Linked DNA regions of Homo sapiens: region 2 is linked to region 1. Evidence: promoter capture Hi-C in human tissues and cell types (Jung and others, 2019). All regions are on one chromosome and are shown on one strand. Each heading gives the region's core, a stretch centred on a gene start or on the middle of the fragment in contact. The rest is flanking DNA. Distances are from core to core; before and after follow the strand shown. Region 1 holds the start of LATS2 (large tumor suppressor kinase 2). Region 2 overlaps LATS2 (large tumor suppressor kinase 2).

The links. Contacts are between HindIII fragments. The study calls those that stand out against the background at their distance.
Region 2: a fragment that was not itself captured here is called in contact with the fragment with the promoter of LATS2 in region 1 in 2 of the 25 tissues and cell types used here (IMR-90 fibroblasts and neural progenitor cells).

Annotation. Positions count from the first base shown.
Region 1 is chr13:21,060,319-21,063,299 of GRCh38, forward strand. It overlaps LATS2 (large tumor suppressor kinase 2), which reads right to left and starts at 1,268. Exons shown (of 8, transcript NM_014572.3): 1 at 1,028-1,268. RefSeq lists an enhancer at 1-627 and silencers at 133-542, 683-1,482. The HindIII fragment of the contact is 21,659 bases long and covers 1-2,981 here.
Region 2 is chr13:20,996,138-20,998,876 of GRCh38, forward strand. All of the region lies in intron 2 of LATS2 (large tumor suppressor kinase 2), which reads right to left. Among named protein-coding and RNA genes, the nearest start is that of LINC00367, 48 kb to the left of the region's middle. RefSeq lists enhancers at 943-1,482, 2,264-2,739. The HindIII fragment of the contact is 5,541 bases long and covers 1-2,739 here.

The DNA of each region.
Region 1 (2,981 bases), core at 18-2,517:
GTCCGGCTGGGGAGCTAAGCGCAGGTGAGCTTACATCAGAAGAGAAAGCCAAACCCCCCACACGTCGCTAAACTAGGGCACGGGAATGGCGTGTTATGCAACGGCCGCCGTTCGCGTGGCCACGAAAGCGCTCCTGCGCCTCGGGCCGCGTCCCGCCAAGACCGTGAGCAAACTCGCAGAGTTGGCGCGGCAGCCGGCCGGGAGACGCCGAGCAGGGCCTGGCCGCCCGCAGCCCGGGAGGAACGGCGCCCCCAGGGTCCGGTGGCCTCTGAGGGGCTGACTGGCCCGTGAGCCGGCGGCGCGGCCGCGGGGAACGGGGTGGGAACCGCGCGGCAGTGGGTGAGGCGGCGCAGCCACCGGGGGCTGAGGGGCGGCGCGGCCTCGACTGCGGCACCGCCGTGGGTCCGTCGGCTCGCGGGACGACGGGGCGGCCGGCGGGGGCCAACAGGGCGGGCTCTGAAGGACTGATTGGCCCGTGGGACGATGGCGCGGCCGGGAGGATGGCCCCGGATCCGTGGGACCGCTGCGCCGCCGGACCGGGGGTCCCGAGGCTGTCAGGGGCGCCCGGCCGGGCGTCTAGTGAAAAGCCGATCCCCCGGAGACAGCGGAAGCAGAGGCGCGCCCGGCGCTACGGCCTTTCGGGTCTAGGACACCGCCCCCGGCCCGCGCCGCCCCTGCCCCGCCGGGATCCCGGCCGCCCCGGTCGCCGCACAACAAAGCGGCGCAGCCCCGCTGCCCCCGCCCGACGCCGGCCTCCAACTTCCCCGGCTCCTCTGGAACCGGCTCCGCGGGCTCCGTACGGCCTGGACTACGAGCCGCCGGGCGGGGGCGGCTCCGGGCGGGCGCGGACCGTGGGGGCAGGGCGCAGGGCTCCGTCCGGACAAACTTCCTCGGCCGCCCCGCCGGGCGCCCTTCCCGGAGCCTCGGCACCACAGTAGGTGCGCGGAGCCGCAGGGCTCGACCGCTTCGCGGAAACTCTCGCCACCCTCCGAGCTGCCGCCCCGACCCCAGCTCCCAGCCCCCTCACCTCCAGGGGCGCGGTCTACACCCTCGGGGGCGTCCTGGCCGGCGGCTCCCGGGCCTCTCGCGCCGGGAGACCGGGCACTGGTGGCTGGAGCTGCTGCTGGCCCCGCAGGGACGGGGGAGCCCCGGGCGGCGGCGGTGGCGTGGACGGCGACTGCTCCATCTTCCCGGGGCGCTCACGCCGCGGTTCCAAAGCGCAGACCCAAGTGGGACATTCGCTACATTGTTGGCATTCCACGGGCGTCACGTGACCCCGCCTCCCGCGTCACTCTCGGCCGCATACCAGTCCGGGCGGGGCGCCTGCGGCCCCTGCTCCTCCGCGGCCGCTCCGCCCAGCCCCGCCCGGCCGTGCTTCCTGCCTCCGGCCTCGACCGCCACCTGCCCACGGCCTCCCTGCTGGCCTGCGGTAGCTCGCCAGGGCCTCTCGGACCTATTTGACTGGCTGCTATCTGCCCCCAAACTTGAGTATTTGCCCTCTCGACTGCATTTGTATTAAAAGTTGGTAACTGTCGTTAAAGCCACTATTCTTAAGTATCTCATACCAGTCTTGGTGAAAGAAAAAAAAAAGTTAGCAGGCCTGAAGGAGCCACCAAGTTACCAACTAGTGGCTGGACACTAAAAATAGGGGCAGAAAAGGACAGACGGCTATTGGGACAGTGGAATCAAACAATTAAGAAGGACGTTTGCCAGAAGCGGTGGCTCACGCCTGTAATCCCAGCACTTTGAGAGGTCTAGGCGGGTGGATCACCTGAGGTCGGGAGTTCGAGACCAGCCTGACCAACTTGGAGAAACCCCCGTCTCTATTAAAAATACAAAATTAGCCAGGCGTGGTGGCTCATGCCTGTAATCCCAGCTCTTCGGGAGGCTGAGGCAAGAGAATCACTGGAACCCGGGAGGCGGAGGTTGCGGTGACCTGAGATCGCATCATTGCACTCCAGCCTAGGCAAGAAGAGCAAAACTCCGTCTCAAAAAAAAAAAAAAAAGAACGTCTGATGCACACCCAAATTTAACCTGATTTAATTTAATCAACCTCCCCTCCCCATGTATATTTTCTTTCTGAGAAGTATTTTATGGTGTAGGGAATAGTATAGTACCGTATATACCAGCAAGTGAGGTCGTGGGTTTTGAACAGCTTCACTATCCATTTGAGGACTGTGGATCTGGTACAGGGACAGAAGCAGGGATGGTGCAAAGATTCACAGTAGAAATAATAGACTGGAAGCCAAATCCTCAGTCTACTTCTGGCTCTCCTAACATCATACTTCCTACCACCTATATCTGTGGCAAGTGATGCTGAGGGTCAATATAGTGTTTAAAGTCAACTCGATTTCCTCTTTAATTGACAAACTCTTGTGAAATTTTTAAATTTTACTCTCATGGGAAACAGTAGTAAAGGTCATTATCTGTGCACTATTTTGACAGTCTCACCCAGCCTTCAGTCCCTGGTTCATCCTCCTCCCCTCCCTCTCTTTCAATCTCTTAAGGCCTCAGCTCTTCCAGGGAATCTTCTCAGATCTCTGTTTTCTCTCTTCTTTGGGCTCTGATAATCAAACCGTAATCCCTTCCTGCCAGCAGAAGTGTGCAAAAAAAAAAAAAAGAAACCATCATCGTGCAGCTTAGAATTCAATTTAATTTTTCGATAGTATCCTGTATGCTACCCAGATATCTTGCACAGTACTGGGAGCAAAATAAGTCTCCAGCCAATATTCTGCAATTGAGCCCTACTGGCATTACCTATGTACTTTTCCACATTTTTTCCTTTTTTTCTTAGAGACAGAGTCTCACTCCATTGCCCACGCTGGAGTGCAGTGGCACAATCATAACTTACTGCAGCCCACATCAGCCTTGAACTCCTGAGCTCAAGCCATCCTCCTGCCTCAGCCTCTAGGGTAGCTGGGAACACAGGCGCACACCACCATGCTTGGCCTTCTTTTCACTCTTAAGCTGACTATACTTTC
Region 2 (2,739 bases), core at 72-2,571, 64 kb before region 1:
GCACCAGATTTGGCACAAGATACCTGCAGTGTTCAACACTTCCTTCATCAGTGACCACTCCATGCCACCTGCTGCAAGAGTAAGATGACTCAACATGTGCAAAACCCAATCTCCTGCCTCTAACTTACCAGTTCTCTCAGGGCTCCCAACCTTGGAAGCATCTTGACTTTGAGATTTCATTCACATCTCACATCCAGTCCAGAAGCATTTTTTTTCTACCTACATTAGAGTGGTAGAAGATTTTTTTTTTTTTTTTTTTGAGACAGAGGCTCGTTCTGTCCCCCAGGGTGGAGTACAGTGGCGTAATATTGGCTCACTGAAATTTCATCTCCCAGATTCAAACAATTCTCCTGCCTCAGCTTCCCGAATAGCTGGGATTACATGCATGAACCACCACCATACCTGGCTAATTTTTGTATTTTTAGTAGAGGTGGCGTTTTGCCATGTTGGCCAGGCTGGTCTCGAACTCCTGACCTCAGGTGATCCACCTGCCTCAGCTTCCCAAGGTGCTGGGATTATAGGTGTGAGCCACCGTGCCTGGGCTGATAGAAGATTCTGGATACTTTGAAGGCAGAACTGATACTATTATTCACACTCCATATCAAATTCAGCAAAACCTGACATGGCATAAACTCTATGCCTCACAGTTTGGGGAGCCACAATGGTTACAAAATAAGAGTCTGACGGGCTCTTACCTGGAGCCCTTATCTGCTACCCTCTGGGCTATTCTTGCAGATTCATAAATATTAAATGAAAAATTATTTTGTCAGATTGGCTGTAGAATAGAAGCTAGTAGGGCTAAATACTATGGCACAAAGGACAGACACCCCGAGGGGCCTGGCAGCCTCGTCTCTTCTGGAGAGCGGTGACATGCACTGCAGTGGGCTAGTCTCAGCTTGGGGTGGTGGCCCTGGACCAGATAGAAGGAATTCTTCCCACTCCATTAAAGCAGAGCTCCTCAAGAGGTTTTCTGCCTCATGGCTAAAACTAAGAGATTGGGGAGGGACTGAGAAGGGCAAGACAAACTGAGGTTTCACTGGTTTACTGCTGCTACTGACAGCTCTTGTAAAACTCCACTTTAGGTGTGTGAATTACACATGAATAAAGCAGTTTTGAACATCTGTACCTTAGGTATCTTTCCCAAGAGATTTCTCCTCTTACATTTTGTCAACAAATTGATGTTCGCTTAAAACTGGACCTAACCACTACGAAGCCTGGAAAATGTGAGATTTGCCCATATGCTATCTGATATAGAAAGGACTGCAAAAGAGGCACTTTAACAAAACGGCGAGGTGGCTGAGGGGTGGGACACCTGCCAGTATCAGGCCCTGCCAGTATCTTGAGGCTGGTCCTCTCAATTGCAAGGACCACACCCCAGCTCCAAACCTCCCCATGGGATGGTCCAGGCCTCTGTTGCAGGTACATCACCATTTAATGATCTTCTCTGCTGTCCCTCGGGGAAGCTGGCCTCACCCAGCTCTCCAGCTGCTGACCAGCTGCCAGACAGCCTAGCATGGGCTCCTGACACACCCTCTGCTCTCTTGGCTTGGTCCCCTTCTACTAAGCACAGGGCTTACGAGGACGGGTGGGAACTGGAAGACACTCCTTCAATCTACCGCTCAGCTCTTAGCAAGGCAGGAGCTGGGCTTGCAATGTCTAAGCAGCAGAAGTATTTCACGTGCATTGCCATGTGAATGCAAGTAATTTAAATGCAGTGACAATTATTATGTATGAGGGAAGGAATTTCCTATGGAGATCCTCCCCCACTCAGCCCTTCCTGGTAAGGAAGCATTTTTCAAGCCTTAGCAAAACCATATCCTAAAGTTTTAACATTCCAACTATGAGGTTTGGCTGAAAAAGTAGAAACGGAGCACTCTGGCCCTATCGTGTCTGCGTGGGCCTCTGTCTGTGTCTGCCTGTCTCTCAGGCTTTCTCAGGTAACTTCCACTTAAGTTGTAGCTGACGCCTGTAATCCCAGGGCTTTGGGAGGCCAAGGTAGGATCGCTTGAGGCCAGGAGTTCAAGACCAGCCTGGGCAAGACCCGCATGTTTGTAAAAAGTGAGAAAATTAGCTGGGCATGGTGGTGGGTGCCTGTAGTTCCAGCTTCATGGGAGGCTGAGGCAGGAATCACTTTGAACCTGGGAGGTGGAGGCTGCAGTGAGCTGAGATCATGCCACTGCACTCCAGCCTGGGAGACAGAGCAAGAGACCCTGTCTCAAACAAACAAACAAAAATTAATTAATTAATTAAATTAAGAAAAAACAAAGACTGAGGGAGAGAAGAGGATGAGAGGGGCCAGTTGGCTGGCAGAGGAGGCTGCACTGTCTCTGGCGGGATCCTGTGCTTGCTTGGAGGATTGCCAGCAGGGTGGTCTTCAAAAGAATCTCTGACCCAAAGGCCTAGATTTTTTTATGAGAACACAGGAGCCGAGGAGCTGGAATTTCCAAAGGGTGTTCCAACCCCACCCCCACGGAAAGGCCCCTGGAAGAATGAGGCCCTCCGGGCCCAGGCCTCCTCTAACCGCCCCACCATTGCGTGCCCCTCCCCTGAGCGCGGCGCTCCCGGCGATCTTGGGCAGGTGGGGCCCCAAGGCCTTGTCAATGCGGGGCGAGGCGGGGCGGGGCCCGACAACCTTGGGCTGGTGGGGCAGAGCCCCGTGACCTTGTCCACACGGGGCGGGGGCCGCAGCGACATTGTGCACGCCGGGTGGGGGCCCTGCGACATTGTCCACGACCTTGT